Linked DNA regions of Homo sapiens: all the other regions are linked to region 5. Evidence: promoter capture Hi-C in 16 types of primary human blood cells and fetal thymus (Javierre and others, 2016). All regions are on one chromosome and are shown on one strand. Each heading gives the region's core, a stretch centred on a gene start or on the middle of the fragment in contact. The rest is flanking DNA. Distances are from core to core; before and after follow the strand shown.

Region 1 (3,053 bases), core at 235-2,734, 390 kb before region 5:
CAGAGAGGTGCATTAGGATGGGAAATGAGAGTCAAACAAAAGCTTACAAACCTCAATTTTGTCTGTCTTAACGCTCTGCTTAGAGCCCAATACTGAAGTGTAAGAAAATATTTGGTCTGTCTGTCTCCAAAAGTAATGCTCTTTTCATTACTAAACTCGATGGAAGAAGGAAGTAATTACAACTAAAGGAGGAGAAGGAGAATAAAATATATGTTTTACATTGGCAGAAAAACTGGTTATGTTAGCACTTTAGATTGGAACAAAAATGATTCAGAATGAAACTCTCTTTTTTTTCCATCCATAGATATTTACCCTATAAATGTTTTTTAAGTTATCCTAAGTTCTAGGTCCTAAACTTTATTAATCTATTATCCAAAATTCATTGAGGTACTGTAATAGACTTCTTAAGGAATCTATGCTGTCCATACATCCCTTGCCTTGAAGTATTCATAATATTTAGTCATCTATTTGCTTTCCTAAGAGGACAAAACATTAACTCTTCCATTATTCCTTTGCCTTGTGTTAATCCTTCAAACACAAGTATTCTCAAGTGGAAGTCTCATTCATTTCTGCCATCTTAATAGCCATCTGTGTAGCTACACTTTTAACGACAATACTTACAAGAAAGGAAATGCTATTGGATTGAATATCTTAGAAAAGCATATAAAAATTTATATTTTCAACTGCTTTACTTCTAACCGTCATTTTTTTAATAGAGAAGAAAAAATATCACTTGAAATAATGGTTGTTCATTTACATCGATCACACTTTCCATCCTCTTCCCAAACTCTCTTGATAATACAATGTAAATATGGGAAATGACATGAGATTTAGTTCCTGTACTGTGAGATAAGACCCTTAATAGAAGAACCAAACTGTCATTCTTGCAAGAACCTGAAGAGTCTAGAACCTCCAATGTGTAAAGTTAAGAATAATAATAAGAAAGAAAAAAAAGGATGAGGTGGAGCTACTCAGTGGGATTTATAGGTCACACATTAAAACTAAAAATCTTGATCTGCTGGTTTGGGATCTTACAAATGTTTATCTCTCTAGACAGAAAGTTAACAAATGACCTTCTATAGTGCTGATATAATTATTTTTCTAAGATAATGAACTTGCTGTTTGACACCACTGCCAATTTTAAAAATAATCTGCTTGTCTGAAATATCAGAATAATGATTAAGCACAACATGTTCAGAGATCTAAGATAATTTGATATTGACAAGCATTTGTTAATGGTACAAAGTATAATGAGTCTGTATTTGATGGTAGAAAATCTGCCATTAGTAGTTAAGCCATCATCATAACAGCTGTTTGACAACAGAAAGAGCTTGTTAGTATTTATTCTGTTTGGCTAAAGTATCAATTAATACTGAACCAATCAGCCAGCCAGCTAAAAAGAAACATAAAAAATGCAAAGTTCTTTTCTTGCCTTTTCAATATAATTTGAAGCCATCAAAATTAAATTGAATGTTATAATTAAAACACATTACACAAGTGTGTTTAATAAAGACTAAAATTCTCTATTAAAAGTGAACAGGAACCAGAGAAACATTTATAATGCAAAATAACTCTAAACTGACAACAGTAAACTGCTGTTGCATAGAAATTGGAAAGTGATATTGTTTAATGTCAACAAAGGAGATGCCGAATACCTTCTTTAAAGAGGCTTGAAAGAAATAATTTACCATGGAAACTCTGCCCAATTCCAGAGACTGCATGTGCTTTCATACAGTGAGAAAATCTGTGAGATTCCAACTCTTTGTAGAATGTGAGAGGAGTAAAATGGCTGTCCTCATTCCCCACTTTAATTTGAGCAATCCAGAATTTACTATGGAGTGTTCCACTGAACAAGTAGCTACACAAAACTTGAATAGGGGTATCTAAGAAACAACAGCTACATAGACAACCAAAGAACGCTTGCTCAAAGAAGTCTGGGAAATGATGAAGTGAACAACACTAAACCTCACCGCAGGATCTCATAGAGCCTTTAACATTTGAGATGTCCTGAGAAGCTCCAAAAGGTGAATGGAGTTCCTACCAGTTCCCAAAATTTGCTTGACAAAAGTAAACCCTCTTTTTTTGCATAGGGTATATTATGGCATTAGGACTCACTGGAAAATATTAATACAATCAGAATTTAACTAAAAACAAGAAATTTCAAATTTATATAAATTGCTTCTTTGAATTTTAGGTTTCTAAGAAATATAGCAAAGGTAAAAACTATGTAATATGTAATATGCGTAAACTCTTTTCCTTGTTTGTGCACTTATACCAAATTTAACTCAAGTTTCCTACCTCATTGATAGGGGATAGGCAACAAGGAAATCCCAAATTCCTGGAAAATTGCTTGATTATATAGCAATAATTTATTAATTGTCTTTTAACATAGGGGTATTATCCTTCCAGTAGCATAATGTCCAAGAATGCTACAGTGGGATCCAGTCTGGGTTTGCATCTTGGCTCAGCTACCTACTAGTTGTAACCCCTTAAAAAACTTATTTAATGTCTTTATACTTCTTTTTCTTCACCTGTGAAATGAGAATAATAATAATGTACCTATATCATAGGTTATTAAGCAGACATCAAATACATGTTATAAGTATTGCTTATATATAAGTGTGTATAAGTATAACTAAAGGTATGACTTACAGTTTTTTTAAAAGAATAAGTAGCACTAACTCCTCAATCAACCCCACAATTTTTTTATCATCTTACATCAAAAGTTCACACAAGAGTCAGACCTGAAGAGCTGTGTTTATCCTTTGAACCTTACCTTGGCACCTCCTAACTTTTAAAGAGCATCTTCAAATAAGATACTCCCAAGTACTACTTGAAGAGTAAGAGTAAATAAAGTAAGAGAGACTGTAGAGGGCCTATGAGTCTGAAACCCCCTGCAAAAACTTCAAGATAATGTAACTCTATACAAGCTTTTTCAGAATGATCTGTTCACTCCCACTGATGCAGCAAAGGACCTTGTTCGTGCTAGGACCAAGAATAGCTATACAGTTGCACATCCTCTAGTTGTTTCAGGTCTGTGATACTCTCTGATG
Region 2 (3,363 bases), core at 125-2,624, 490 kb before region 5:
AGAGTGGCTGTGTGGCTGTGTCACTTTATCTAAGTTGGAACAGTGATTCCCAGAATTGTCATAATTTTGCGTTGGATGACATTTCCAAAACCTTCATTCATTTTAGTAGTTCAAGGGCTGATTCACATTGTTTTCAGTGAATTTTTCCTGGTTACCTTAGCCACAAGTAGACCATACCTGTACCTCTTGCATATTTTAGGAAACAGACCTTCTTTGGAAAGGTTAGCATGGTGCCTTAGTTGTAGGAAGTAAAAACAGGTTGCCAAGGGGGAGAATTCAAACACAACGTAGAAAGCAAGCTTATTCCTAGTCTAGGGGCTTTAAAAATGATCTGTTGTTATTGTTGGCAGATTATAAAGTTCTACTAAGGACACATTGAAGGAATACCACAATATTTTATCTTCAATTTAAGTAAATAACCACAAAATGTATCATTCCAAGGTTGCTGCTGGCTGAACATTTTATCAACATGACATTTTAATATAGAGAATAGAAATTCTCAAACTTTGCTCCTTAAGATATTAATAGACACTTCTATCAAGAAAGAAAAAAAAGGAAGAAAAGAAAAAAGTAAATTTGGATATATTTGGCAAATGCTGTCAAATATTAACTACCCATGGCTAATTAACAATGTCAACTAGCATACAAAATTATATGGAAAAGCTGGCAGGAAAAGTGTAGACTGTTTCCTCCCTTTAAATCTGGATCAGACTTTTAACTACTTCAACCAGAAGAGTAAGGCAGAAGTGATATTGTATGACTTCGAATAGTAGGTCATAAAAAAGACGTAGCTTCCACTTGACCCATACTGTTTGGAATGCTAGCTCTGGGTAAGCCAGCCACCATGCTGTAAACTCAAACTGGGTTTGGATCGTAATCTGAAAGACAAAAACCTGAATGCCATAATCCTGAATGTTAAAATCCCCAAAGATCAAAATTCCTTATGTCTAAAATCCCAAAACATCAGACCTTGAAAATATAATTTTGGAGACGAAAATATCAAAGACATTATTTACATTTTAAAAATGGGGTTTAGGGCTGGGTGCGGTGGCTCAGGCCTGTAATCCCAGCACTTTGGGAGGCTGAGGCGGGTGGATCACGAGACCAGGAGATCGAGACCATCCTGGCTAACACGGTGAAACCCTGTCTCTACTAAAAATACAAAAAATTAGCTGGGCGTGGTGGCGTGCACCTGTAGTCCCAGCTACTCGGGAGGCTGAGGCAGGAGAATGGCGTGAACCCAGGAGGTGGAACTTGCAGTGAGCGGAGATAGTGCCACTGCAGTCCGGCCTGGGCAAAAGAGCGAGACTCCGTCTCAAAAAAAAAAAAGGGGGGGGGGTTTATTTGAAAACATATAAGAACATGAGAGGATACTTCATCAGCTACTTTACACAATAAGACATACAATAACAGGACACATATTTTTGCAAGCATAAACACTAATATATACTAACAAGTCACACAAATATAACAGTTATAAATCAACCATATTTATAAAGAAATAGGTCGAAAAGCAAAATGCATAAACATATATCACTATGGTTGGCAATTGTGTGCACCCAACTTTTTAACTGTGGTCATGTAAAATACTATGATGGACACACTGAGTCTTTTGACAAGATCTATCAAATACTGCAATGGGTCCCAACAAAGTATGCAGTTGCCCAAAGAGCTGAGATCTTGAAAAAATTTTTTCTTTCACAAATGCAGATATACAAAGTAAGATATATCTTCATGTATTGAGGATCAGAGTTTTTATATTCACTCACAATGCTTACACATGAAGTGAACATTGTGATAATGCATTTTTGTGGAGTCAAATTTGAAGAAGAAAATATAAAAGTTTTTAAACAATGATGTAATGATTAAATATATAACAGCAAACTGGCATTACGGTACAGAAGTACACTATCAAATTACTTGGTAGAGGAGATTTCAAGCATTTTTCACCTGTGTTTTCACCTCTATGATCTTCAAAATACTCTGCACTTGTGTTTGGAGAGTGGTTGTGGTCCATACATTCCATAAGTGTATGCTGTGCATTTGAAAATCTGGTTATTGCTCAGATATCACAAGCAATTTTCTGCTTTCACATGCAGTACCTATAATAGTTAGCTTTTAAACTTTTATCATTACGCCATTATCACAGCCTTTTTGTGAGGGAATAATTTCACAGATCTCTTTCATTGTGTTGTATACAGTAAAAGGAGTAACACTTAGCTTCCCTAATACCACATCTGTGTTAGTCAGAGTTCTTCACAGAGACAGAAGCATTAGGATATGTATATAAATATATGAGAAGGGATTTATTATGATAATTTGTTCACACAATTATGGGGCTGAGAGTCCCATGACAAGCTGTCTGCCAGCTGGAGACCTGGGAATGCCAGCAGCATGGCTCAGTCCAAGTCTGAAGGCCTGAGAACCAGGGAAGCTGATGGTATAGCCAAAAGCTTTGGGACCTGGGGAGCCACTGGTGTAAGTCTCGGAGTCCAAAGGCCGGTGAGTCTGGAGTTCTCATGTCCAAGGCTGCAGAAAAAAAGTCTGTCCCAGCTCTCAGAGATAGGGACCAATTTGTCTTCTGAATTTGTTCTCAGGGCCCATGGCCTATTAGATGGTGCCCATCAACACTGAGGGCAGATCTTCTCCACCTAATTTACTTACACTCAGATGCTAATCTCTTCTGGAAACATCCTCACAGACACACCCAAAATAATACATTACCAGATTTCTAGATATTCCTTAATCCAGTCAAGTTAACACCAAAAATTAAGTCCATGCAACTGTCTTTCACACAACTGAAAAATGCACTAATTTCTTCCCCAGAATTCAGCTTTCAGGATTTTAACACTTAGGGTTTTAATGTTTCAGTATTGTCTGGATTTTAGACATCAGGGATTTTAGATTTTAGGGATTTTGACTTTGGGGATTTCAACATTTTGGATTATGGAGTTTGGATTATGATCAGCACAAAGTTGTCTCAACACTATGAATTAAAAAGTTTGTGTTTGCCCAGGATTGAAGATGCAGTCTTCACTTTAAAACAAATGTGATAAGTGTAATAGAATCACTTTTAACTCTCAATTCTGTCCTTTCCATCTTATTTTACATGCACTGTTTTAATTATCTAAGCTTTTTTTTTTTTTTTTTTGAGATGGAGTCTTGCTTTGTCGCCCAGGCTGGGCACGATATCAGCTCACTGCAACCTCTGCCTCCCAGGTTCAAGCAATTCTCCTGTCTTAGCCTCCTGAGTAGCTGGGATTACAGGCATGTGCTACCACACGCAGCTAATTTTTGTATTTTTAGTAGAGATGGGGTTTCGCCGTGTTGGCCAGGCTGGTCTCAAATTCCTGACCTCAGGTG
Region 3 (3,367 bases), core at 162-2,661, 430 kb before region 5:
GTATTTTATCTTTTCTGTAGATATTGTGGGGGTTTTTCTTGATTTGGCACTCATGTTGGACTTTACTGGTGTGTAGAAATGCTACTGACTTTTGTACATTAGTGTTGGATCCGGAAACTTTGCAGAAGTTGTTTATCAGATCTAGGAGCTTTTAGTCAGAGACTAAAAGTTTTCTAGGTATAAAATCCTATCATCTGCAGATAGAGATAGTTTGATTTCCTCTTCCTATTTTGACCCATTTATTTTTTTCTCTTGCCTGATTGCTCTGACTAGGACTTTTCAGTACTATGTTGCATAGGAGTGGTGAGTGGTGAGAGTGGGCATCCTTGTCTTGTCAGTCTGGAGTCAGTCTGGAGGCTCTAGTAAGAGTCATGGGGGATCTCCTGAGCCCAGGATTGCAAAGGTCCACAGCACAAGTGGTTCCTGGAGGCTCTCACTCACTCACTACTTCACTATGGTGGGGAGCCTACCCTGACTCCACACCAATCCTGGGTGGGTGGCTGTCCTGTCTTGCTTTTGTCTGTTCTCCATGGGCCACCTTGCTTCCTTGATGAATCCCAACATGCCCAGCTGGATGACCTACTTGAGACACTAGTATTTACTCACCACTCTTTCTTTTCTTCATGAAGCAATGCACATTAGCTACTTCTAGTTAATTATCTTGGCTCCAACACCCTGACATTAATTGATGAATTTCTAAAATTGTAATCATTTATAATCATTGATCACTAGAAAATATTATAAAATCACCTGGAATAAAGTTTGTCTAGAGTTGCAATGGATCTGAAATATTGCCCTACTTGCAAGCTAGCAAGTGAGCCTGCCACAACTTCATAGATGTTGGCAGAAGATATGAGACTCCTAGGTTAGAGATCAAGAAAAATATTTCTCATGGCAGAGCAAGCAATTTGAACATCAACATATTTTCATAAATTTATTTTGCCTCAATACTCCTGAGGTGATTTGACAAGCCCAAATGATACCTGAAAATACAATGGCTTACATATAAAAGAGAAATTACTACCTTAGAGAACTACAATCTTTTACTCAGGGCGGTAAACAAACTTGCCCTTTGCTCTGAAGAGAGAAAAGTACTGTTATCTTTCAAGACTGTTTGCTATACAAATACTCTTGATAAGATTGCCAGAAACAAGAGGCAGTGAATGCCTCTCTCCTAGGAGGTGCAGAAATGCAAGAAGCCTGGAGAATCATTTCACAACCAAAGTATGTCAAACTAAGATAATTTTCTTTTTCTGATGTTCACTGTATTTCAGAATTCTTATAAGAATATACTAATTTTATCATGTGATAACATTTCTTCTGGTACACTTGCACATAAGAAAGCTGTATAGATGAAAAGATGTTGCAATTGGATGAATCTGTTGCACACAGGGTCCAGATAGTTTAATTTATGAAAACCTTAAGGGAAGTCTTAGGCAATACTCTTGAACAAGTTATCACCAATAATTGCCGTCCTTCTTGATATGTTAATTTCAAGTACTTTTTTCTCTGACCTATGTCCTACTCTTTTATAAAATATATTTTAGCACCCCCCTCCAAAAATTGTATAAGTTCGTTTGAGGTTTACAATCTACTTATCCCATTACTTTTTCAATATGTTTCAACCCATCATGCCTTTATCATCTATGGGCACGATTTATATTCTATGATCAATAATTAGGATAATTCTCTACAACTAGTGGCTGATTGAATTGCTGCTGTAGTCTTAATGTGTGTCTCCCCAAAATTCATAAGTTGGAACTTAATCTGCAGTGCAACAGTATTAAAACGTGGTGACTTTGGGAAGTGATTATGATATAAGAACTCTGCCCTCATAAATGGGATGAGTGCCCTTATAAAAGAGACGCCAGGGAGCTTTTTTGCCTGTTCCGCCATGCAAGGAAACACAGAAGGCACTGTCTATAAGAAACAGGCCCTCACCAGACACCAAATCTGCTGGCACCTTGATCTTGGATTTCCCATCTTCTAGAACTGTGAGCAATAAATTTCTGTAGTTATAAATTACACAGGGTAAGGTATTTTGTTATAGCAGTCTGAATAAACCAAGAAAATTTCATGTAACCATTGTGGGATCAGAGAAAAAGCAACCATAATCCAAGGGCTTCTATTTTAAATTCATGGCCAAAAACCACAAATGTTCAAATAATATTTAGAAAATGTTTAGTATCATGGCCCATCATAATAAAGCGACTATCCAACGAGCTGCATATTTTACAACTATACCTATGCAGATGAATGGGACTGAAACACACACCCACATTCACACAAACACACATTCATGAGATACATGTACTCAGACACACCAGGGCTGACTTTTTGCCTTTCCTTTACTGTAAATCTCAAATGTGTACTAAAACTGACAAATCATTCCATTATATTTTCTCGGAATATTTTCTTTCCCACTCATTCTCTCAGAGCATTATGACACACATTTTTCCCTCTGTACAAACCTCCAACAATCTCCTAATTTCCAGGTGATTATATTAACTCATATTTAACTGGAAAATAAAACAAGATTAATCTGACTCTAGGAGGACAAGACAACTATCCAGAGATTTGCAGTGCCACCTAATGGATAGTCCAGAGGGCTGATCTAGAGTTAAGGGAGAGAAGTTAGAGGAAAAAAAAGTTATTCCCAGATGATTTTGAGCTACTTAGTGAAATACTGGGAGGGTGAAGCTGGGCAACTATGTTTACATGCTCTTATAGATAAAAAACAACCAGATTTGAGTCACTGTTGGGTTTGAAGCTGTATATGACACTTGTAATAGTGTTAAATTCTCAATGTGACATGAGAAGAGTTTTTAATAAATCTAAATAGGTGGGCATATGTAGAGATAAAATAGACTTACCAGGCCAGGCACAGTGACTCACGCCTGTAATCCCAGCACTTTGTGAGGCCGAGGCGGGCAGATCACGAGGTCAGGAGATCGAGACCATCCTAGCAAACACGGTGGAACCCCGTCTCTACTAAAAATACAAAAACAAAATTAGCCGGGTGTGGTGGCGGCCGCCTGTAGTCCCAACTACTAGGGAGGCTGAGGCAGCAGAATGGTGCAGAATGGTGTGAACCTGGGAGGCGGAGCTTGCAGTGAGCTGAGATCGCACCTATGCCCTCCAGCCTGGCAGCCTCGGTGACAGAGCGAGCCTCCATCTCAAAAACAAAAACAAAAACAAAACAATAACAACAACAAAAAGCAGACTTACCAAAAGTTAATAAAAGAAAAACAGTTAATTTAATTAATGCGACCTTCCAGCCAAACTTACCTGAAGGGATAGAAAGTGAACATCCCTAGGCAGGGGAATGTTAAGTATTCTGGATCTCATTATTCCAGGAAGGGTGGAG
Region 4 (3,209 bases), core at 504-3,003, 470 kb before region 5:
GTTTTGTGGGGGTTTTTTCTTATTAAGAGACTAAATAGCTGTTGAAATCTCTAAAAGAATAAATGGATGCTAAAAATTCAAAAACTTTCCTACTCAGGGGATTCCATCATAAGTGTATAATAAAGAGTTTTGGTCCTTTGGGAAATCAGTGCCTTTATTACGGGAGGGGGGAATTTAAAATTATATATGGCTCAAAAAAACACATCATGTATAGTTTTTCTCTATTTGGAAACTAAAGCATACATTAAAGCCTCATCATTTTCTTTTGATTAGACCATTGCCTTAGCCTGCTAAGTGTCTTTCTGCTCACATTCTTTTTTAAATTTAGCCATTCTTCAGAGCTTTCTCTGTTTTTTGTTTTGCTTTGTTTTGTTTTGTTTTGTTTTTAAAAGCACAGATCTGGAAATGTCTGTCCTCAGCCTCAAAAATACTCAACCTCCATAGCAGGGTAGGTAAATTATTTTGAAATCTACTCTCTACCATTCTGACCAACTATATCCTCACTACTAATGGACTATCCACATACGTCTTTCCCCTTCTCTAAAAATGCCATCATCTTTTATGCGTTTGCATCTTTACTTTTTCATATCTAGCTGAGTCAAGGTATCTTTCTAATTCTAAATCTTTAAAAGTTTTCCATAATCTTTCTTTGACTTCACTTCCCTATGTTTCTAAAAGAATTTCTCTGTACCTGTATTGAAGGGTTTACCACATTGTACTTGAAGTTATGAGTTTGATTATTATTTTCTCATTGACTGTCACATCTGTGAAAGAAGGGACATATTATTAAGCATTATATTCCCACTGCCAATGCCTGGCACATAGTCGGTGTTTTAAAAATTAAAAGGTGAACTAGTGTACACTTCATGATGGCTAAAATTCAAAAGACTAATTAAATTAAGTAAGTTGAGTCAAGGCTGTGGAAGATCTCAAACTCCCATACACTGCTGGAAATAGTGGGAAAATAGTAAAACCACTTTGGAAAATACTTGGGGCAATTTTTTAAATAGCTACACGTACAGATATATGATCTGCCTATTACACTACTAGGTAGCTACCCACATGAAAGTAAGCATATGTGCATATAAAAACTTGTACATTAATGTTCTTAGATGCTCTATTTTAATAACCAAAAACTGAAAACAACTCAAATTTCCATCGACAGGTGCATGGAGAAACAAACTGTGGTATACCCATACAACGTAATACTATTTACGGCAATACAAAAGAATGAACTTTTGAGAAATGCAATGAAATGAATGAATTTCAAAATAATTATGCTGAGTAAAAGAGGTCAGAAAACACAAGTATAGGGTATATAGACCAATTTTATAAAACATCAAAACAATGAAAACTCTTCTATGGTGACAGAAAGCAGAATAGTGGTTGCTGGGGTTTGCGTGAGGCAAATACTGGAAGGCTGAGGATGGAAGGATTAAAAAGAGGCATGAGAAAACTACTGAGGGTGATGGATATATTCACAATCTTGGTTGTGGTTAGGCTTTTATGGGTGTAAATATATATCAAAACCTATCAAATTGTGTAAATATGTGCATTTTTCTATGTCATTTACACTTCAATAAAGCTTTTGTTAAAAAAGTTAGAAAGTGAAATGATAAAACTATATTTTGCAAGTAATTTTACAAAATAGATGCTACTGGTTTTCTTAGGGTACAACTGGGTAGGTATATATATTTATCAACATAATTTGGTAATGCATACCTTTTTCAAGAACTGACAGCATTGTTGATTTGGGATACTATAAAGTCAGACACTATTCTTTACCATTTAAAATATTTATATTCTTCTCTGTTAATCAAATATGTGATTATTTATTATCTGTATTTACTGTGGTAGAATGGGAAGAAAAAGTGAACTGACCTTATACCAAGGTCAGTATGTGGCCCCTGAGCGGGTAGTTTAAGCTTGCTAGGCATCGGTGCTTCATTTTGTAAAGTAAGGCAGTTAATATACAGTGAATACGGTTCAACAAGTAAAGTTTGTAAAAATTGAGACAGAATTTTGACAAAAATACTTAGGAAAGGTGTTAGAGTTGGTAGATAGTATTCATGGCCTCTGGAGCAGTTTAAAATCTAGAAGGTATATGAGGCCATGCCTAAGTAATTTTAAAGAAGATATGGGTTCAAACTGGATATGTCGTAAGCCAGGAAGGAGGCAAATGCTCTGAGAAGACAGTGAGATCCCTTCTGAATGGAGTCTGCAGAAAGCTTGTGAATAACACTTCACTGGAGTCAGCTCTAAAAGAATGAGTAAAATCCCAAGAAAATGGAATTGTGATATTGTGACAACACAAAGTCTTAAATATTATTTAACCAAACAGAGATGGAAAGAAAGATAATCTAAACAGAGATAACTTGGCAGCAGTGTACACAGTAGACTTGACAAGAGGGAATTACTAATGTTGGCTGGAGCAGGCTATTCTTTATATATATATATATATATATTTATTATACTTTAAGTTCTAGGGTACGTGTGTACAACGTGCAGGTTAGTTACATATGTATACATGTGCCATGTTGGTGTGCTGCACCCATTAACTCGTCATTTACATTAGTTATATCTCCTAATGCTATCCCTCCCCCCTCCCCCCACCCCACAACAGGCCCTGGCGTATGATGTTCCCCTTCCTGTGTCCAAGTATTCTCATTGTTCAATTCCCACCTATGAGTGAGAACATGTGGTGTTTGGTTTTTTGTCCTTGCGATAGTTTGCTGAGAATGATGGTTTCCAGCTTCATCCATGTCCCTACAAAGGACAAAAACTCATCATTTTTATGACTGCATTGTATTCCATGGTGTGTATGTGCCACATTTTCTTAATCCAGTCTATCATTGTTGGACATTTGGGTTGGTTCCAAGTCTTTGCTATTGTAAATAGTGCCGCAATAAACATACATGTGCATGTGTCTTTATAGCAGCATGATTTATATTCCTTTGGGTATATACCCAGTAATGGGATGGCTGGGTCGAATGGTATTTCCAGTTCTAGATCCCTGAGGAATCGCCACACCGACTTCCACAATGGTTGAACTAGTTTACAGTCCCACCAACAGTGTAAAAGTGTTCCTATTTCTCCACATCCTCACCAGCACCTGTTGTTTCCTGACATTTTAATGATCGCCATTCTAACTGGTGTGAGATGATATCTCATTGTGGTTTTGATTTTCATTTTTCTGATGGCCAGTGATG
Region 5 (3,183 bases), core at 452-2,951:
GATTCTGTCACAAAGATGCTCTGATAGTAACAGGAAAGTAAGCACAAATCCTCACTGAGACTCTGTTAAGTGAAAACCAAGTGTTTCAAGCTTCCATTGCTCCCCCTAATGGTAGGAAAGCAGAAAACATCTAGACGTATGTATTTCACATTTGTCAACTAAATACTTTACAGAAACCTTCCTCCATGTGAGTATGTTCAATATTGTGTTTTATGTAAGTTCAGAAAACAAACTAAAAGTAATAAATATATCAGTTATTATTAAATTTCTGGTATTATATGAAAGACTCCTTGCTATTCTAAGTAATTATTAAATGTTTGGATTTAATCGCTTTGCTTAAGTTTTGGGTAAAGGTGAAAAAGTTAAACTCATAGATTGTATAATATAAATCAATTATCTATAGGAACCAATCCTATTTTTTCTCAACTGTTACTACATGATTGATTTATTTAAAAATTAAACAAGACTCAGACAACTTTACATTCAAATATTCACATCTCTAACAGCACTGACTTGTCAAATTACCCCATGTATCTTGAAATGCTTACTACAAGAAGAAAGTTTTACTCTAAAAGGCATTTTGAACAATTTTCTTTTGAGAACTCAGACAAAGAATGGGTATCAGTGTAACTCATGAAATACATGAAGACTATCATAGAAAAGTGACTTTGGTGAATGGTGGTTATTTAGGATTGTCTCCTTTCCAAAAGTACAATCTCTTTTTTTATGGTGAAAAGAGTATTATAACAGGGAAAGAAAGCCGATGCAATAGTAAAAACTGTTGAGAAGGGAATTATACAAAGAGTGAGACATGGCATCAAGAATGAATTCAAAAAGAGCAGAAAAATATAGGCATAAAAAGAGATAATGTACAGAAAAAAAGTCAGTGATACAACAACACAAATTTTTACCTGCTAGAATGTAAGTAATTTAGAGCTGGATTTTATAAACATGAAATTGTTTTTCTAATACATTCAACCAAAAGTCAGCACACATAGTTCAGTCATCTCTCATTACTTACAATAAAATATTTTCTATTTGTTAGGAAATAATATCTTATTCCCTGGATCTATTATTTCTTTTTATTGATTTTCTTTCTATTCTCTAAACTTAATTGCTTAATTTTTATAACTGATTCTCTGTCTCTATTCCATCTTATTCCAGCATGGATTATTTAAAACCTGTATTAGTTTTGGAACCACTAAACATTTGCTCAGAAGTTTGAATTACCAGAGAAGCACCCTAACTCTTCAAGAACTTCCAAGCCTAAGGAATCACTGATTTCATGCATTCATCCTGGAGATTTTCCTTAAAAATTAGAAATAACAGATCTCATGTTTCACAAAATCAAAATGACAACTTTTGGAGTGGGGGAATGAGAAGTGGGAAAAGGATGATACTGGGGGTTCTTTGTCAGTATGCTGTATGTATGCTGTATGTCAGTGCAGTTGAATGACTCCTTCTGTGCGTCAGAAATCCAAAGCAGCAGCAGCAGCAATTAGGGAAGATCGTCACTTTCACTCAAGGTTCAGAAATGGGGGAGGAGAGCAGGGGGGACAAAGGAAAAGGGGAGGAGAAAGCAGGGCAAAGAGGGGAGGGATGGAGGTGAAGATAGGGCACATCCTGCAAAGATAATGTCTGTACAATCAATGACATCATCCTCCTGCTTATATATATAGGGGAATGGCCAGAGCACCTCTCATAGTTCACTCACTTTCAAAGCCAGCTGAAGGAAAGAGGAAGTGCTAGAGAGAGCCCCCTTCAGTGTGCTTCTGACTTTTACGGACTTGGCTTGTTAGAAGGCTGAAAGATGATGGCAGGAATGAAAATCCAGCTTGTATGCATGCTACTCCTGGCTTTCAGCTCCTGGAGTCTGTGCTCAGGTAAGCAAAACAGAATTTCACAACTCCCTGAAGTGATTTCTTTTTTCTCTTTTGCAGTGTGTTGCTACTTATGTTAATGTATCTGGGGAGAAGAGTTGCTCCCTTTTATTCAGGATTTACCTTTTAGTGACAGAAACTGAGTATCTCTTTCTCTGCCTTTATGATTACTGAGAGATGTATTTTCTCTTTTAAAATCTGCAAAGCAATAAAAGGGATTTCAATGAAACACTGCACGACCTCCTTTGGAATTCAACAACTAGAGGGAAAAAAACCCTACAAAACTTTCAATTAGGCTGATCATTATCTAATGAGAAATACAGAGGCAGTGGCTGTCAACCTGCAAACCCATCATTAAATCCCATTCCATTCAAAATGTTTTACTCTCATCCTCATTCATTCTCTTAGGAAGCGGTGGCCCTCACGCCCTTGTAATAGTCCCCGTATTATTTTCTTGTTTGTGTTAAGATAACAAATAAAGTGAAAATTGATACTTAGTGAAAAATGAAGCATTATTTGTAGAAAATTATTTCTAGAAAAATACAAAAATATTCCAGATCCTTTTTGAGAACAGAATTTGCATAGTCTAATAAGTGTGCTATTAATATAACTGTTTGGCATTTTTTCCATGCCATTTAAGTTAATACAAAATACAATTGGAAAATTGGTATTCTTATATTGATGGAAATTATTTGACTTTAGAGTGTTTTGCATGTGGTTTGAAAGAAGTTATATAGTCCTAAGTATCTACGAATAACTCACTTTGAAAATAAGACTTAAATTGAAAGGTATAACATGAAATATTACAACCATTGCAAAAGGCTCTACTTAATATTTAAGAAATATTACAATGAACACTTCAAAGGGAAAAGAACACATTAGGAAGCAAATGCAGCAAAAATAATTTAACCTGTTCTGTGCTTTTATGTATCATAAATATGACATGGAAATGTTTAACTCAAACTCATGCTATCATTTGATTTAAATTATGAAATTAAAATCTAAGAAGATATAAATGTGATTTATACAAAATTTTAAATTTATTTTAATCATCAGAACATAACTTTCAGCTTCTACTTTTTAAATCTTATGAGAAAAAACAAACTTTTCTATAATTATGATTTTATCTGAAAGTTATATGAGATTAAAGATTCACATACTTCTGGAAGAAAAACTGGGTTATTGATTAAGCACTGTGTTTATTAACTTGAAACTACTTGTTGTAATAATGCAATAGTTATAAGGATTTTGGTATACATTGTTCATAAATTCCTAAAACAGATTATGTCTCTAACAAATAGTG
Region 6 (3,026 bases), core at 430-2,929, 370 kb before region 5:
CACCACTGCACTCCCGCCTGGGTGACAGAGCGAGACTCCGTCTCAAAAAATAAAATAAAATAAAATAAATAATAAAATAAAATAAAATAAATGAGGAATGGACTGCAAGAATAGTAAAATGTAGACTATTATCCTCCTTTTTTATATACATAATATTAAGCACTGGCTTTTTGTAATAAACACATCATAAACTGAGGTTATTGACAAAATAAATATAATCAGGACAATTGGGAAATAGTTTAAGAAAAATATCCTTTTTAATATGAAGTATATTATTATGCCTTTTAACTAAGTAGGCCATATTCCTTTTATTTCAAATTAAATAGGTAGATGGTGAAGAATTTATTGTTATTTCCAGAGTCATGGAAGAGTAGTTACCAAAAGTCCCTCTTGTGGACAAAAGCCCAAAGACTGAATTAGTAACCATTAAATGGCTATGATATACCCAGTTGCATCTGTTTGCTGTTGCCACTGTAACAAATTACCACAAATTTAAAGGCTTACAATAGCACAAATTTATTATCTTTCAGTTCTGGAGCCTAGAAATTTAAAATAAAATGTATGGGCTTAGAACAAGGCTGTTTTTTCCGAGACTCCAAGGGAGAATCTGCTTCTTGACTCTTCTACTTTTAGGGGATTCTATCCTTCCTTGACTCCTGGCTACATCACTCCATTCTCTGTTTCTGTGGTCACATTGGTTTCTCTACTGTTGTCAAATCTACCTACCTCTTATAATATTTTCTCTTTGTGATTATACTTATGGCCCATGCAAACAATCCAGAATAATCTTTTCATCTCAAAATCTTTAACTTAATCACATCTGCAATGTTATTTTTGTTACATAGGGTAACAGTCACATATTCTTGAGTTTAAAGTGTAGACATCTTAGGGAGCCATTATTCAGCCTATCATACCACTGCTGTTCTGTAGTACTGCTCGAGATGTCAAAAAGAAAGAGATAAGTCCTCCATGGGTTTATAATATAACTGGAAAGACAAAAGAAGTCTTCCTTATCGAATAAAGAATACTTTATGCAGGATGAGGCCAGCAATAAGAAAAAAATATTTCATAGTTTAAAGAATGAAGAAATCAGTTGGAAGAGACTTGGAAAAATACATGAGCAAAGACAGGAGAGGTAGAGTAGGCATGTCTTAGAAGACAGTTTCATAGAACTGGATTTCTAAGGTAGAGCAAACACTTGTAGGATGGAAACATGTAGTGCCTTCTACATTGTCAAGTACACGGGTAGGCAATACGCAAATATCTATATGAAAAATAATAGATGATTGGTTAAAATTGGAATGAATGAATATATGAATAAATGGATAATTAAATTGATTATATACAGATTATGAAAAATTATGTGAATTAATCTTCATAAAGTTCTGTTATCATTATGTAATTTGTTAGAATAAGTTGTATCCGTAACTTAAGGGGCAACGGTGAAACCAACAGAAAATCCTAGAAGACGCATCCTAACATCTTGATACAATGATACAGCCTTGGGTGCCTAAAAGGTATTTGCTACATGTAAAGTTTAGCACTGAGAATTTCTTAAATATGCTTTCCTTTTAAATATCTTGATCACCAAGGATGATATCTCTTGAAAGCTGCTGTTCAGCTCAGTGTGTATACATCTCATATAAAAGGGTCAGTTTAAGAAATGTGAAGGTCAGAAAAACACAGAATGGAAATGAGAAACAGAAAGGTATAATATTTCATTAAAAATATATCAATGCCTCTGAAAAGTAAGAACAGGAGAAAAAGTTTCAAATTGATTAGGAGCAGCTCAAGAAAGTTACTGCTGTCAACTCTTTTTAGAAGGCAATGTTGGGCAACAGATGAGATGGCATATAAGTTTATATATGTGTGTCTGTGTGTGTGTATATATATATGTATACAATTTATATTAAATTTTAGAGTACTGCCAAATGATAATTAGAACTATATACAGAGCTGTCTAAAATCTTGTTTGTGTTTCTCTCAGTGCGCTGTGTTTTCAGTGTTTGTTCATGGAAATAGTATGTTTTGTGAAAACAATACATGAATATAGTGGCCATGATTTAAAGTTAAATTTCTTTTTGCATTTTTCTTTGACATATAACTGAAATTAAAATGATTTTATATGTTTTAGAGATAATGAAAAACTAATCTGTTTCCTCTGAGAATACAATACCCTTGCAATGAATGGTCACTGTGTTGGAAATCAGATCTGGATTGTGAGTTGCTGGCATCTTCATTGGTTTTATTGAGTGATATTTCATCCCTCATTTATAAATGTAAATCAGTTACAGTGTTTGGGGGTGACTGGGCGCGATGGCTCGCCTGTAATCCCAGCACTTTGGGAGGCTGAGGTGGGCAGATCACGAGGTCAGGAGATCGAGACCATCCTGGCTAACACGGTGAAACCCCGTCTCTACTAAAAATACAAAAAAATTAGCCGGGCGTGGTGGCAGGTGCCTGTAGTCCCAGCTACTCAGGAGGCTGAGGCAGGAGAATGGCATGAACCCGGGAGGCAGAGCTTGCAGTGGGCCGAGATTGCGCCACTGCACTCCAGCCTGGGCGACGAGCGAGACTCGGTCTCAAAAAAAAAAAAAAAAAAGTTTGGGGGTAAATTACTATTATGTTGCTTTATACAATAATATCATTAAATTTACTAGAAGGAAAAGCCACTGTCTGTAATCATTACAGTTGTTCAATGAATATTTATTTTGAAGTTTTCTTCTGAAGAAAACTTAAACCATAAGCAAGTTTTACAGTTCGTTTTAAAAATATAGATTATGGTTTATTAACTTACATTACATTTTTCCCACCCCATATTGGCTTGTAATATTTTTCCCCAAAGAAGTGGAATTGAAACTTGACTCAGTTTGGAGGTGTTCACTAATGATCTCTTGAATCATTTCCTTCTCCACAGTTTTTATTCCTCTATATTAGAAAGCATACAGCATATTGCCAATTTTTCACTAATGATGCATGAAACGTAATGAGTTGAATGGGCCTCCAAAGTATTACATGAATGGCCT
Region 7 (3,189 bases), core at 175-2,674, 360 kb before region 5:
TGCCTGTTTACTTGGTTACATTTGTTATTAGCATGACAATATGCCAACAGAAACAGACAAAGCCATGTGAAATAAAAATAATTTAGTCTGATGTCATTTTAATAACTATATGAGTTTTGGCCCTATCAAATAGGGAAAATGTGGTAAAAAAAAAAAAAAAGGAAATCAGCAAAAACAGTAAACAAACACAAATATTGCAGAATTGTGTACATTTAAATGAGGGGGATGGAGATCAACAGATTATATAATAATGATATGAAGGACTCTGTCAAACAGCATTAATGAATCTATACAGACATGGAAAGACACAAATGTATTAAGAGAACTAAAGAAATGCAAATAAAGCAGTAAAGGGAGGTAGCAAAAATTCTAGTGGGAGCTCAGACTTTTTGAGTAAAGACTGGAAAAATTAGGTAGTAATATGGCTTATCCTAGGACACGAACTTTTTTTTCAGTTTTAGAGACTTAGTTTGTATAACAGAAATTGATTGGGTGTGCACCCATAGAGTTACAGACAAAATAAAAAAAATCCTGTGATGTGATTAGAATTTTTAATGATTTAAATAAAATCCCAATGCATTGGCATAGAAAATTCTCATTTCCATAGATTGGGATGAGAATTATTTGCATTGTAGGATACGTATTCTAAATCAATATTTATAATAAATATAGAAATTATAAATTAAATAATAACCTTAGAACTAATGTGTTTTACATTACTTATAGGAGTAATCTGTGTTTTACATTTTAAGTAGAATTAATGTTTAAGAGAATTTTGCACATTAGAGTAGCTAACAGATTTATTCTGAATTTCCAATTTAAAGTTTGTAACTTAATGAATAATTCTGTATTCTAATTTTAAGTTTAAAGGCATACGTTTTTATGAGGTCTATAAACAATACAGTATTTGTTAGACAATTGAAATGCTGAAACACTAAATATTTGTATTAAATCTGTAAATCATTTATTTGAATACTGTATTAACCAAAAGAGTAGTTCCTGAATTTTACACCAAAGCTGCTCAAAGGATACCAGAAATATTAATTATTCACTCTTTGAAATTAAGGACATGCCATTTTTATTACAATTAATCTTGCACTATTGGAGATATAGTGAAGGTCTATGAAATATTTCTAAAATGAAAGATGAATGCATGAAACTGTTAGAATCATCTTTAGTAATAATGCTTAATGAAATTAATGCTGATGCAGCAAAAGAGAATAAGAAAAGAATACATATCTTTAAATTAAAAAGAGTACATACCTTAATTCTATAAAGATTGCATATATATATTTTGAAATATATATTATGTATAAGTCTGCTTTTAATGGAAACTAACTCTATTCATTTATATTAACTCTGAAGAGTACAATCAGTAAATGCTCTCATTTCTAGAATATAAATTTTCTCTCTCCCAAGAAGTAAAAGTATGAATTACCTTTAGAAGAGACTTTTATATGGGGAAAAAAATCACTGTAAAATGTTCTATTTATTTTCAGAAATGTAAAGCAAGTCCTATCCTTTATTCATGTGGAAAATGGCAAAATCCCCATTTTTGTGTCCCTTTGATGATATAAATCATGTGTGGTTGAGTCTGGGATGAATCTCTCAGACTGTTGCTTTTTATAAAATGAGAAAAAATTTTTATTTTGATGAGTTAACATGACATTCTGCCTATAAAATATAGTTTGTTTTTATTTGTTCAGAGTGATGGAGATTATCCAAAGAAGGCTAAGTATGGAATGCACAAGTAGCACTGTTTTGGGGAAAGACCTAGTAACACGTGGCCTGGCTTTCTATGCAGCTCAACCTGGAACTGAGTCTCCCTGACTAAGTGTTAAGGTTAAGCAAGTCTGAAAATCCTGAATGTACCAGGTCGTGTCTTGTGTTCTGATATAATTGTTGTGATGGGTTCACAGTCCTGAGATTTCCCCTGAAGGGAATGAAAATGTTCATTTTCAGTCATCCTGGAAAAGACAAACCCTCAAAAAAGAAACCAGAATTACAGGGGTCACACCTTAAACTAGATGGCAGGTGGTGAGGCTCAGGAAAACAAACTACTTCTTAATGTGAATCATGCTTGGATCACCTCCAGTAGCCATGATGGAGGGAAGGGGGAGTGGAGGGACACCTTCAATGTTCTGATTCAGAAGTACGCCTTGGGTGGAGCCCAGGTATCTATGTTTGCATCAAGCCTTGCTCTCTTTTGCCCACTACCCTGTGATTCTAATGAAAGTAGCCTGCATACTGTAAGATATATTAGACTTAAAGAGTAGCAACTTTTGCATATAAAATCAAACACAAAACTGGACAATAGAAATAGTGTTTAAAAATGCATCATTTTGCTACCTTTGACATCTATCTTTTTTCTTATGCCAAAAATAAGTTAAAATCTGCTAGAGAGCTATATCATTAAAAAAATCATAAGACCACTCTTCAGTATAAAATAGCTGCCATGCCATTACTAAGGTGTGGCTAATGTGGTTATCTCCTCGTTCAAATTCATTTTGGGTCTTAATTATTATTCTGGCTTTGGGAGAATCAGAATATGCTGGAGTTTCACTCATTGCCTTTGGCTTGTGTTTTAAGTATGACATCAGAGACAGTTCTTTTTACTGTCAATCAAGGAGTGAACAAGCCATGTCAGTGGTACACAGGAGGAAAACAAAATTGTCCACAGACTTCTTGTTTTTCACATTCATAGTTTATACTTCATCACATTGGTTCGTGAATAGGATTTAATGGTCCTACTACATAGTAAACAGAGACAGTTTTCAATTTGATTAGCAGTTAGTTTTGTAGGTAGCTTTTTCATGATTAAAAAATCTAGTAATTACTTATTGTTTTGTGTTAACAACCGCATACAAGCAATTTTGATAAATATCACCTGTCATGATATTTATCATTGTTAGATAATACTAACAGAGAAACAATTATTTCTTATCTTTTTTTGCACATATTTAGCCTTATTATTTAACCATATATCATAGAATTTAAAATATTTCTATAGTAAGAGGTCATTTTTGATTTATATAATACTTCTACTTATCCCTGACCAGGAATGATCAATCATGATACAACTGTCTATTAAAGAATGAAGAATATATTGCATTTTCCCCTTGTGAAATTCAACAGAAAAATTAGACTATGCTATATTTTATTGCTTGTGGACTCTAAAATTGGAACTTA

What was found. The method cuts DNA at HindIII sites, captures the fragments that hold promoters and counts their contacts. A CHiCAGO score of 5 or more calls a contact.
Region 1: a contact is called between a fragment that was not itself captured here and the fragment with the promoter of NTS in region 5, in 8 of 17 cell types (megakaryocytes, erythroblasts, endothelial precursors and 5 more). The highest score is 27.7, in megakaryocytes.
Region 2: a fragment that was not itself captured here is called in contact with the fragment with the promoter of NTS in region 5 in 1 of 17 cell types (erythroblasts); the score reaches 5.4 in erythroblasts.
Region 3: a contact is called between a fragment that was not itself captured here and the fragment with the promoter of NTS in region 5, in 6 of 17 cell types (fetal thymus, megakaryocytes, erythroblasts and 3 more). The highest score is 13.2, in fetal thymus.
Region 4: a contact is called between a fragment that was not itself captured here and the fragment with the promoter of NTS in region 5, in 1 of 17 cell types (megakaryocytes). The highest score is 5.7, in megakaryocytes.
Region 6: a fragment that was not itself captured here is called in contact with the fragment with the promoter of NTS in region 5 in 7 of 17 cell types (megakaryocytes, erythroblasts, M1 macrophages and 4 more); the score reaches 12.6 in megakaryocytes.
Region 7: a fragment that was not itself captured here is called in contact with the fragment with the promoter of NTS in region 5 in 4 of 17 cell types (M0 macrophages, M2 macrophages, megakaryocytes and 1 more); the score reaches 6.8 in M0 macrophages.

What each region holds. Positions count from the first base shown.
Region 1 is chr12:85,481,585-85,484,637 of GRCh38, forward strand. All of the region lies in intron 4 of LINC02820 (long intergenic non-protein coding RNA 2820), which reads left to right. Among named protein-coding and RNA genes, the nearest start is that of LINC02820, 170 kb to the left of the region's middle. The HindIII fragment of the contact is 2,888 bases long and covers 41-2,928 here.
Region 2 is chr12:85,378,090-85,381,452 of GRCh38, forward strand. The region is part of intron 2 of LINC02820 (long intergenic non-protein coding RNA 2820); the gene reads left to right. Among named protein-coding and RNA genes, the nearest start is that of LINC02820, 62 kb to the left of the region's middle. The HindIII fragment of the contact is 2,154 bases long and covers 298-2,451 here.
Region 3 is chr12:85,439,362-85,442,728 of GRCh38, forward strand. All of the region lies in intron 4 of LINC02820 (long intergenic non-protein coding RNA 2820), which reads left to right. Among named protein-coding and RNA genes, the nearest start is that of LINC02820, 120 kb to the left of the region's middle. The HindIII fragment of the contact is 6,428 bases long and covers 1-3,367 here.
Region 4 is chr12:85,399,679-85,402,887 of GRCh38, forward strand. The region is part of intron 3 of LINC02820 (long intergenic non-protein coding RNA 2820); the gene reads left to right. Among named protein-coding and RNA genes, the nearest start is that of LINC02820, 83 kb to the left of the region's middle. The HindIII fragment of the contact is 340 bases long and covers 1,584-1,923 here.
Region 5 is chr12:85,872,594-85,875,776 of GRCh38, forward strand. It overlaps NTS (neurotensin), which reads left to right and starts at 1,702. Exons shown (of 4, transcript NM_006183.5): 1 at 1,702-1,883. The coding sequence starts at 1,811. The HindIII fragment of the contact is 11,906 bases long and covers 89-3,183 here.
Region 6 is chr12:85,498,020-85,501,045 of GRCh38, forward strand. No RefSeq gene overlaps it. Among named protein-coding and RNA genes, the nearest start is that of LINC02820, 180 kb to the left of the region's middle. The HindIII fragment of the contact is 6,193 bases long and covers 1-3,026 here.
Region 7 is chr12:85,515,044-85,518,232 of GRCh38, forward strand. No RefSeq gene overlaps it. Among named protein-coding and RNA genes, the nearest start is that of LINC02820, 200 kb to the left of the region's middle. The HindIII fragment of the contact is 5,362 bases long and covers 1-3,189 here.